Regions from separate parts of the Homo sapiens genome. Here region 2 is linked to region 1. The links are contacts of gene promoters, found by promoter capture Hi-C in human tissues and cell types (Jung and others, 2019). All regions are on one chromosome and are shown on one strand. The core of a region is centred on a gene start or on the middle of the fragment in contact, and the rest is flanking DNA. Distances in the headings are between cores, read along the strand shown. Region 1 holds the start of CYTL1 (cytokine like 1). Region 2 overlaps STK32B (serine/threonine kinase 32B).

Evidence for each region. Contacts are between HindIII fragments. The study calls those that stand out against the background at their distance.
Region 2: a contact is called between a fragment that was not itself captured here and the fragment with the promoter of CYTL1 in region 1, in 1 of the 25 tissues and cell types used here (mesendoderm cells).

Annotation. Positions count from the first base shown.
Region 1 is chr4:5,015,772-5,021,556 of GRCh38, reverse strand. CYTL1 (cytokine like 1) reads left to right here and starts at 2,099. Exons shown (of 4, transcript NM_018659.3): 1 at 2,099-2,264; 2 at 4,378-4,422; 3 at 4,593-4,721. The coding sequence starts at 2,112. It also overlaps a transcript of STK32B not described here. The HindIII fragment of the contact is 2,782 bases long and covers 46-2,827 here.
Region 2 is chr4:5,150,862-5,156,646 of GRCh38, reverse strand. The region is part of intron 2 of STK32B (serine/threonine kinase 32B); the gene reads right to left. Among named protein-coding and RNA genes, the nearest start is that of STK32B, 100 kb to the right of the region's middle. RefSeq lists an enhancer at 1,992-2,493. The HindIII fragment of the contact is 4,803 bases long and covers 197-4,999 here.

The sequences.
Region 1 (5,785 bases), core at 850-3,349:
GCCCATTCCTTGAGCACATCCAGAAGCCCTAGAGCATTTTAAAGCAGACCTAGAGTCCCCAGCTGGGGCCAGCTATTCTGCCAGGGAGGCCCATGCCCCAGGCACTATCATGGAGGGAGTGTGGAGACTCCTTCACCCAGAAGAAAACACATCTGTGCCTCCACTTGCCACCTCCAAGCACACACAGTTCTGCCCGAAGGCCGCGGTCCCTATGTCATCTTGCTAAAGGTGTTTAGAGAACACATTCTCACCTACAAAACAGGAAGGCACAGCTTACAGTCCCTGCCCAGGGCTTTTACCACCAGAAACTAGATAAATAAAACACTGGGGCTGGAAGGAACCTCAGACATCGCCCAGCGTGATGCTATCCTGTTTACAGACAGGGAATGGAGGCCAGGTCGAGAAGGGATTTCTCCTGGCAAATACAGTGGGGACAAGCTGGAGCCGGGCTTCATCCCTGTGGTTGATCCTCAGTCCAGCCCTGTGTCCAGGATGCCATGCTCTGGTTCACCCATCCCTGTGGGCTGCATCTTTGGTTGTTTTGTTCTGGGAATGTGGAGCTTGCCCAGGATGCTCCCCTTTCCTCCTTTGTTGGAGGAAGCTTTGGAGGCAGGAAAGTCCAGACATAGCTCCAGGGCTCCACTGCTCTTCCCAGCTTCACATCCCCCGAGGCCCTCAGTTTCCTCGCCTGGGAATTGGGAATAACCCCATTCACTTCATTGGCTGGCTGTGAGGGTCATAGCGTTCCCAATGGCAGCTGGCCTGGTGGCTGCTGGTATGTAAGTCATGTTCAGTGTTAAGGAAGAATCTTCTCCCTTTTGACAGTTCCTTCTTGCTTGTTGCCTGATCTTGGGCAGCCTGAGGACCCCAACTCATCTCTGCCTGCAAGAGTCCTGCTCCTCACCCATCCTGCCCTGTGGGATGGAAGAATGGCAGGAGGACAGGGCCTGAAGTCTCATCCCAACCCATGTGCCTCCAGCTTTGTGACCTCCAGCAAGTTGCTGGAACTCTTGAGCCTCAGTTTTCCCACCTGGAAAATGGGACTCTTTTCTGTGGCACCTACCTCACAGAGACAATTGCTGGATTTAACAGAGACAGTGCTATTAGCTCCGATCACTTGGAAACACACAATGGGCCTGGCATGAGGCTTGCTCAGTCATGCTATATCCTGTTGATTCCTCACTATGGCCTTTTGAGTGAGCCACTCTCACCAGCCTCATCTCACAGATAAGGAGATGGAGGAAACACTGAAGAAACTTGCCCAAGGTCAAAGCCAGAAGGCGGTGACCCTGCTTTGCACCCACGGCGTCTAAGTGGAGAGCCTAGACCTTTACCTGCCACTGTCTTGGGAAGTTAGCCCTGAGGGAGATGCACTTCTTGAAAACTAACCCTTCCTGAGGGTCTGCTCTCCCTCGGGGCCTGTGCTGGGAGCTTGAGGTAGAAGAGGGTGGGGGTACTCACACTCCCCACACATACGGCCGCTCAGTGAGCCCATCCTCCGGACCGAGAGACACACACGGCTTCTGAGAGGCTGGGGGCCCTGGCCCAAGGCTCACCTACCTGGTTAGCGATTGATGGACGAGGACACCGGTGGCCTGACCGCAGCTCTGCATCCCTGCTCCACTGCGGGCTGCCTGGAGGGAGGGATGCTCAGTCATCCCCTGCTAGTCCCTTTCCCTCCTGGCACTATATCCATTTTGACAAACCGTGCCATCCAAACCCAGGCCTGACTGCCCACTCCTCTCCTCTGACCCTCCCCTCCTTCCATCTCTGTCCTCCTCTTATCCCCCACCCCTCTCCATCTGCTGTTCCTGCCTTTTCAGGAAAAGTCCCTGTGCAGAAAGAAATTTCTTGCTGAAAGTGTGGGGGAGGCAAAGCCACCCTCTGTCACCCCCTCCTCCAGGCAGCCCCTCCTCTTAACCTGGGGCTTTCGTGTCTGAGAGGATTCCTGTCCCGACCCTGCCCGGTGGGCGTGCTGGCTTCCTCTCTGCCACCCTGGATGGACCGCAGCCTGCGCTGGCCCCACAGGAAGTGGAGGCGTGGAGCCGCCCTGGACCACCCCCAGCCTGCATAAAGGGGCGGTCGGCGAGGCTGCACCAGCGCCTGGCACCATGAGGACGCCTGGGCCTCTGCCCGTGCTGCTGCTGCTCCTGGCGGGAGCCCCCGCCGCGCGGCCCACTCCCCCGACCTGCTACTCCCGCATGCGGGCCCTGAGCCAGGAGATCACCCGCGACTTCAACCTCCTGCAGGTCTCGGAGCCCTCGGTGAGTCCCCCGCCCGCTCAGGACAGGGGTGCATGGCAGACCCAGTTCTTAAACCCTTGCCTTTACACGAAAAAAAAAAGAGAGAGAGAGAGAAAAGGATATTTTTCTTTTCTAGTAAATGTAAATCTCAGGAGTATTTGTGTTTTATTCATCTCCTTTTAAATATGATACCAATGGTTTGCTTTCTTCAAAACACAAGAAAAAGTAAAGACAACACAATTTTTGTGACTTACTAGCAAATATCAAAGGATCTGTTGTAAAATGTAAAAAAAAAAAAAAAAAAAAAAAAGAAAAAAGAAAAAAAAAGGAGTGGGAGGATGGGGAGAAAAACAGCTCCCCATCAGAGTTAAGGAGGACGGAGGAATGAAGCTTGTGTATTGCTTTTGTTAGCCTAGTGAGGAGTGTGCCCTAAGAGGTGGCTCACAGAACTGGCCTCCGCCCCTCATCTGCTGAGGGACCCGGGCAAATTTCTCAGCCTCTGCCTTTCAGTTTTCTTGTCTGTAAAATGGGATGACAGTAGCACCCCTCCCTTTAGAGTGGCTTTGACGATCAAAGGCAGGTGTGAACACAGGCAGGGCTCACAGAGCCAAGCCTACAGGAACAAGTACTCAACAGATGCCAGCTGATGTGAGCACGATCTTCAGAGGCAGATCTGGGGACTCAGAGAGGGGAAGACCCGGGAGGGCTTTTGGGGACTAGAACCCAGGCCTCTGCCTGCTTCTCCGTCGAAACAAAATGCATTAAACTTCATTAAAAGCTTTTGTAAAGTTTCAAAGTGTCTTTTAATCACTTGCAAATGCTTCAAACAAAACATAATGTTTCTCAGATGTTGGGGTTTACAAAAGCCTAGCTAACACCTTCTTGGTATTTTCTTTTTAAAAGTTAAATAACATGTATTTTTTCCCTAATTATAAAAGTATTGTACTTTGTAGAACAGTTGGAAAATAAAGTACAAAGAAGAAAAAAAATCTTGCTTGTAATTCTACCACCTAGAGGTAGCTGCTGCCGTAGCATTGTGGAGGATCATATTTCAGCTTTCTGTCTACATATAGGTATTCAAATACGTGTGTGTTGTGTGTGTGTGTGTGTGTAAACAAAATTTGGGTCAAACAGCACAAGCAGTTTTGCAACTTACTTTTTAATGACACTATCAAATAAGTTCATTTTTGTTTTAACATTTTGTTGTACAGTTTCACCACAATTTACCCACAAGTTTCTTGTTATCGAATATAGACAGCAATCATCTTTTAAAGGAATCTGATTTTAAAAGGTTTAAAAAGTTCAGAGGCTCTGAACCACAGAGCGGGAAGAAAGTGGAAAGATTATGCATTCTAAATCTCTAATTTCACAACTGAGGACTGAAGGAAGGCACTTGCCCATGGTCACACGGGGATTACTGAGAGGGCAGAGCACGAGGGCTTTTGCCCTTCAGCCCTGCGCAAAAACGGAAGCCCAATATAGAAATATAAAAGTATGCAAATTTATGCACTTCGATATTACTATATTATACACTATATACAACTACATATTAGCTATAGAATGCCTATAGAACAATAGGTATTATTACATATATCGTACTTATGTAAGTATATATAATGTCTATAATTACATGCAGTTATACAACTGTTATATAGCTAATATACTTATATAAGTTATTATATAAGTATATTATTATATAAGTTACTATATAACTAACTTATACAACTGTTATATAACTAAATAGTTATAGAACTGTTTTATAGATGTACATATATACTCTGTATGTATACTTGTATTACTGTATTATATATCACTATTTCTATATTACAGTTATAGGACTGCTTTTATGTATATACGTGTATGTATATTTCTGAATGGGTATGCATATAAAACAGCTCCCTGGTTCATAGCAAATGATATAAAAGTTGTATTCTAAAAGTCTAATTCCGGAAGCGCAGTCGCCCATTTCTGGAGGAGTGTGACGTATGACACAAGAAAGTACTGTGCATGTCGTAGCATCAGGGAGGGCCCCAGGGATCTGGGCTGGTCTGGCTGTTGAGAGGGCCACTAGGGAGACTTTTGTGACCAGGTATGCCCCTGTGGGCATCCCAGAACCCCTTATCCCTTTCCACAGGAGCCATGTGTGAGATACCTGCCCAGGCTGTACCTGGACATACACGTAAGAGGGTTCTCCCTGGGGGAGGGAGGTCTTGGGCTGAGGGACTCAGGTCTGAACCTCTGCTGCTGGCTGTGTGGCACAGAGTCAGGGAGAGATCTTATGCAGCTCAGTCCCTGTTCCTCTTGCTACTGACTTCTCCCACAAGCCCCCTCCCCATTGCCCACTCCCAGAATTACTGTGTGCTGGACAAGCTGCGGGACTTTGTGGCCTCGCCCCCGTGTTGGAAAGTGGCCCAGGTAGATTCCTTGAAGGACAAAGCACGGAAGCTGTACACCATCATGAACTCGTTCTGCAGGAGAGTAAGTGGATGCCATTGAAAGTCTATTTTCTACTTGCTATCAGCCAAGACTTTCTGAGCTTTTCAAAGAGGAGAGTTGGGAGGAGATGGTGACAAGGAAGAGGAGCAGAGATGTTTCGCAGATGCTTTCAGTTCACAAAGCCCTTTCTCAACCATGGTTGCCTTGTTGGGTGATGGGGTTCAGGACAAGGCCCTTTGTCTCCATGAGCTGCGCATTGATGCAGGGGCTACACCCCAGGACCACACCCCAGCCACATAGATAGACTCTGCCAGGAGCCAAGTGAGGCAGGGTAGAGGAGACTCTGCAGGAGGAGGTTCAGGTGTGCTCTGATAAGAGGATTCCGGTAGGAGAGGGTAAAAGGACAGAAAATCAGCAATAGTTAAAATGTGGAAAGTAGAGGCATGTGATTGCAGGGCACAGACTTCAGCATCAGAGAGCCCTGAGCTTGGGTCTGTATCTCCCTGCTTCCCAAGTGGGAGTGCCTGTCTTAGTCTGTTTCTGCTGCTATAACATAACACCACAGACTGGGTCAGTTATTTTTTAAAAAAAGATGTTTGTTTAGCTTATGGAGGAGGCTGGGGGGTAGTCTAAGAGCATGGTGCTGGCATCTGGTGAGGGCCTTCTTGCTGCATCATACCATGGCAGAGGTCATCACTCAGCAAGAGGGTAAGAGCCAGAGAGAGTTCACTTTTTTAACAAAGCCACCCCTGCAATAAGCAACCCTCTCCCAAGGTAGTGACGTTAATCCATTCATAAGGGCAGAGCCCTCATTAATCCATTCATTAAGTCAAAGCCTACATTAATTCACCTACAAAGGCAGAGGGATTAAGTTTCCAACACATAAACTTTTGGGACCACATTCAAATCACAGCAGTGTCCCTTCACTCCTCTGAGGCACAGTTTCCTCAGTCCTGAACTGAGGACATGGTAGTGCCCATCTCATGAGGTGGATAATAATAATTACACCCTTACCTTGTGTGGGCACTGCAGTAACTCCCTTGATCCTAAGAAGCCTAGTAGAGTGACTAAATATGGAATTGCTAGCACCATGCCTAGCCCAGAGT
Region 2 (5,785 bases), core at 1,349-3,848, 130 kb before region 1:
CACTTTCGAAGCTCACTCCTCAGAGTCCTCCCAAAGGTATCCTCCTCCTTCCCTCAGAAATAACGAAGCCCTGCTGACTACAGAGTTAACTCAAAGTGGAGCACTTCACCGTGGACGCTCCTGCTGGCTCAGCCATCAAAGGGGTCAAGAGGAGCCAATGGAGAGTGAAGAGTAGGGGCTGGACGAGGGTGAGTGGAAATAGAGGAGTGTCTGTGCGAAGTAAATTTGCATGCAGAGGAGTGGGAGAAACTCACCTCTGCGTGCTAACCCTGAGTCAATCAATATAAACCATGTGTCAAAATCGTATCTGTTGATTGGTTAATTGTTAAGTTCTTCATTCATTTATATTTATTTATTTATATAATATTCATGCATTTATATTATATATGTTATCTGTATCATAGATCAATGTATGTGTATACGCTATATGTGTAAGTGTATGTACATATAGACCACTTCAGTGGTGTATGCATATGTGTATATGTATACACATATACATATGAGTGTGTATATGTATATGTGTATACATATACATTGAGTGTATATATGTATATGCATATACATGTATGTGTATCTATGAATATGTGTACTGTATGTGTTTTGTGGTGGATCTATAGGTATATGTACATATATACTGTTTAGTGGGTATATATATTATGTAGAGAGGTATATATGTATATGCATATCTATGTATATGTATATGCACGTGTACATATTGCTTAGACACTGTGTATATATGTGAACTGTTTAGTGGGTATATTAGTCTGTTCTCACACTGCTATAAAGATACTACCTGAGACTGGGTAATTTATAAAGAAAAGAGGTTTAATTGACTCACAGTTCCGTTTGGCCAGGGAGGCCTCAGGAAACTTACAATCATGGCGAAAGATGAAGGGAAAGCAGGCACCTTCTTCACAAGGCAGGAGGAGAAAGAGAGCAAGGAAGTGCCACACCTTAAAACCATCAGCTCTCGTGAGAATTCACTATCATGAGAACAGCATGGGGGAAACCGCCCCCAGGAACCAGTCACCTCCCACCAGGCCCCTCCCTTGACAGGTAGGGATTACAATTCGAGATGAGATTTGGGTGGGGACACAGAGCCAAACCATATCGGTGGGTATGCCTAATGTATATGCATATACATATGTGTGTCTCTATAAACTGCATGATAGGTAGGTATATGTACATATATGTGCATGTGAGTGTGTGTGTGCATGTATACTGCTTAGCAGGAGCTAGGGATAAAACAGCGAACAAGAGGAAACATTGCTGCCCTCAAAGAGCTTATGTTCTGGTGCATGAGACCCATAACCAAGAAGACATCTGAATAAACACATAATAGAATCACAGGTAGTTTATAGGTGCTATAAAGAAAAGGGGAAGAGAAGGGCAAGGAAATATGGAAGGTTGAGGTGGAGACGAAGAGGGTGGGCATTCTGGGAAGGCGCCACAGAGTGGACATCTCAGCAGAGCCCTGTATGCTATAAGTGAGCCTTGCAAACACCTGGGGGAAAGGTGACTGAGGTGGAGAGAAGAGCAAGTGTGAAGGTTCTGAGGTAGAAATAACTCCAGTGTGGTCAAGAGACTTGAAGAAGGGCTGGAACAGAATGAGCAGGAAGACAGAGAGGATAGAAAGCAGAGTCAGAAAAACAGGCACAGGCCAGACTGCATGACCTTGTGGCCTGGCATGGAGGGACTGGCACATATCCCGAGTGGGAGGGAGGCAGCAACCAAGCAAGCTAATTCATGATTTGCGCACATCCCTGGCTGCTGTCTAGACCAAGAGTTGCTGTCCTCTTCCCTCTCTCACCCGAGCACTCACTAAGCCAGCACTTACTGAGCCTTTACCACATGTTGGGCACCAAGCTAAGTGCGGATGGGCATGACCAGGTCCCAGCCCCTTGGGAATCTCAGTCACATGGAGAAGGCAGATCAGCAGCCCAGAAGCCATGCCTGGCGCTGCTGTGTGAGAGAGATGGTGAGGATGACACTAGGAGCACCAGACACAGGAAGGGCCTCAGTCCCAGGTCTTCTCCCTGGCATGTTCCTCCATGTGGATACCCAGATCCTTCTAGAACCCACCAAGCCAAGTAAAATCCTAGCCATGCTGGCTTCAAGAAGACATGGAAACCAGTCAAGCTCGGTGGTTCACGCCTGTAATCCCAGCACTTTGGGAGGCTGAGGCTGGTGGATCACCTGAGGTCAGGAGTTCAAGACCAGCCTGACCAACATGGTGAAACGCCATCTCTACTAAAAATACAAAATTAACCGGGCCTGGTGGCACATGCCTCTAATCTCAGCTACTTGGGAGGCTGAGGCAGCAGAATCACTTGAACCCAGGAGGGAGAGGTGGCAGTGAGCCAAGATCGTGCCATTGCACTCCAGCCTGGGCAACAAGAGCGAAACTCTGTCATGAAAAAAAAAAAAAAAAAAAAGACATGGAAGGCATTTGAAAAAGGCCATCCAGCCATAGATTAGTAGGACTCTCAAATTCCATTATTATTCATGCTTATTCTTTCATCAATAACATACTGTCTCAATCATTGTAGGTTCACAGTACATCTTGATATTGGGTAATATACCTCTACAACTTTGATCTTGTTTTACAAAATTGTTTTAGCTCTTCTAGATCCTTTACTTTTCATATAAATTTTAGAATCTAGTATAGATAACTATAAAAAATCTTCTGTGACTTTGATTACAGAACCAAAATCAAATCTGTATATAAGTTTGCAGAGAATTGCCATCTTAATAAAAATAAATATTCCAAAGCATAAACATAGTTTTTTATATTGACTTTGTATTCTTCAAGCTTGCTATACTCATATTTTCATTCTAGTAGACATTTTGTAGTTTCTTTGATGTTTTCCATGTAGAAAAAACATAAGTCTGTGAATAGAGACAGTTCTGTTTATTCATAGTAAATCTGTATGATTTTATTTTCTTATTGTAATAGCTAGGACATTTGTTGATGTGTATAGGTGTGGCAAGAGTCATATCTTTGCCTTGTTTCTACTTTGGAAAAGCATTTAATCTTTCAGCATTATATAAAATGTTTTTGTATGTTTTTGGTAAATGCTTTTTATCAGGTCGAGAGAGTTCCTTCTAGGCCCTACTTTCTTTAGAGCTTTTTTTTTCCACCAATGAATGTTGAAGTTTACCAAATTAAAAAAAAAAAAGGAAAGAAAAAGGCCATCCACACGCCAGGTACCATGCTGAGGGCTGAACATTGTTTGCCCCCTTATTCTCACATAAGAACCTAAAGTCCATTATCCATTATAATCATTACTTTTTCTCAGAAGACAAAAGGGAGGGTTGCAGGAGCCACATGATTGGTCCAAGTTTCCATGACTGGAAGAAGCAGGCTCTGACCCAGAGCCAGACCTCCCCAATCTGGAAGCCTGTACCCTTTCCTCTATGCCCTGTTGCATCCAAAACCAAATGTCTGTCATTGGACACTGATGGACATTTTCCTCCTGACCCCACTTGTTTCCAGCAGATGTGCCTGTGATAGAAGCCAGTTTCAACGTCACTTCTGTATCTGGGAGGGACATTTGAAAATAAAACAGGCTGTGCATGGCAGTGGGGTCCTCTCCAGGACGCGGATTCATCATTTGTAAAACGGGGATAATAACATCCATCATACTGGGCTATTAGTGGGACAAGGTAGACAATGGGTCTCCAGTTGCCAGGACCATCACTGTTAGTTTCTGATTAGTCAGGACTCTTTAGGTGGCAAATACTGGAAGCCCAACATGATCTCACCGAGCAGAAAACAATGTTAGTTTCTATAGCTGGTAAGGACAGTGGGTAATTCATGGGAATAGGAAAATAAGAAGGTGGCAGTGCTGCTGTGTCCACCCAGGTCCCTCTCATCACATCCACACACCTCAGGCTTACTATGACACCTGCAATGGCCTGCAAAGAGCAAGCCAAAGGTGCAGGACAGGCAATGCTGCACGGGCAGCCCTCCACTGTCACCGAATGAGAACTGCGTATCCACGCATTAGCTTTTCATCTACAGCCACCAGACACACACTCTGCACTGTCTCCTGACATCCTCCATGGAAGTAGGCTCCAGAAGCCCACCGGGGTGAGTGGCTTGATCAGAAACCCTTTATTGGCTGCCTTCCTTTCTCTGTCTCACTCCTCCTGTCTCACAAATATTTCCTGGGATCATCTTCAAATAAACAGTTTGCACTAAATTCTTTCTCTCAAAATCAACTTCTGGAGGAATCCAAGTGAGAACAGTTATCAACAGAGCCAGGACCAGGGTGAGGCTAGTGATGTGTCCAGGTTGCAAAATACAAGGAAGCAAGTGTCAAGCCTGCATCTGCAAAATTTTAGAAAGCAAGGCACATGTTTAACTCAGTTGCCTCACCTTAATCTCAACCTTCACCAACAAAACGCCATCTCTTCACCCACCTCGTATATCTGTTTCTGATTCTTTGCTTTAAGCTTCATTCTTTTCTTCTACAGATAAACCTTCACTTCATCAATTGCTGACGAAAATGACCAAAAAAATGCAGACCTGTTTTCTTACAGTGCATGATAACTGAGAGCAAGTTTTTCACCTCTGATTCCACAGAAGGTTTCTGAATGGTTGGACTTGGATCACATGGCGACACCTTGGACCAGGCACTATGTCTGGCTGAATATGGTCCATGTGGCTGGCACAGGCACATCATATGGTCATCTCAAGTGAATTGGGGACCACAGTGACATGAGGAGGGGGCGGTGTTCTCCAAGGGGAAGGAATGTCATTATAATAAGAAAAAGGGATCCAAAAGCATGCTGGAGAGTCAAAAACAGTAGCCCCTCCAGTGTACTATGGTTCTCCATTCCCTTTCCATTTTACAGATGAGAACACTAAGCTGCAGAGAAGTTAATTTGCTTTCCTAGGTATCCACCACTAACATATATTAGCATCAGCCTGACTCCAAAATCTAAATTGTTTCCACTGGTTATATAGAAATTAATGTGGTGTGCCTCAACTGTCCCAGAATTTAGTCATAAAATGGTTATTTTAAATGTGAGTAAATTATTGCTAAAAATCAATGGATTGCCAGCAGTTGTTTACTTTGGTGCTACACTAGGAGGCACAACTTCTTCCAGCATGACAGTGAAAAGATTTCTGTGAATTCACATGTGTTCTTTCCTGATAACCAAGGCTATTATCATAGTTTAACAATGAAATGTCTTTCTGGAAAACTCTTAATAAATGTCAGGTATCAAAACTGCCAAAGACAGACAGCAAAGCCAAAATATTCATTCAATATTAGGAGGATGGTTTTCTTCATCTTATGCCAGCCTCCCTCCACCTTAACTTTAATAATAGTCATGTAGACTTCACCTGCATTTATTATGAAAGGCAGTGATTATTTAGCATTTTAACCTGAACAAAGCTATGCTTTATTCCCTTAAAGCAGGTTAACCTTGTGCTGAATACTTGACATTTGTGTACATTCTATATGAATTTGCGTGTCATCAAGAAATTGCTACAACCCAAAAGCAACTTAGAAATAGACCTTCTAGAAAGCTTATATTTCTCAAAAGATCCATTAAATTTTCAACGGATGATGACAGGCTATAGTCAATTTGAAAATCTTGAGGCCACACACTAACAGATTTGGTAGTATGTCCTAAAGGAACACAAAAGGTTCAGGAACAAAACTCTCAATGACATGGGGGGAAAGTGGTATGCCTCTTTGTGATGCTAACTTTGTCGTGGATTGAAAAGGAATGCCTCAATTTTCCTGAAGCCATAAAATCTCAACATTAAGAT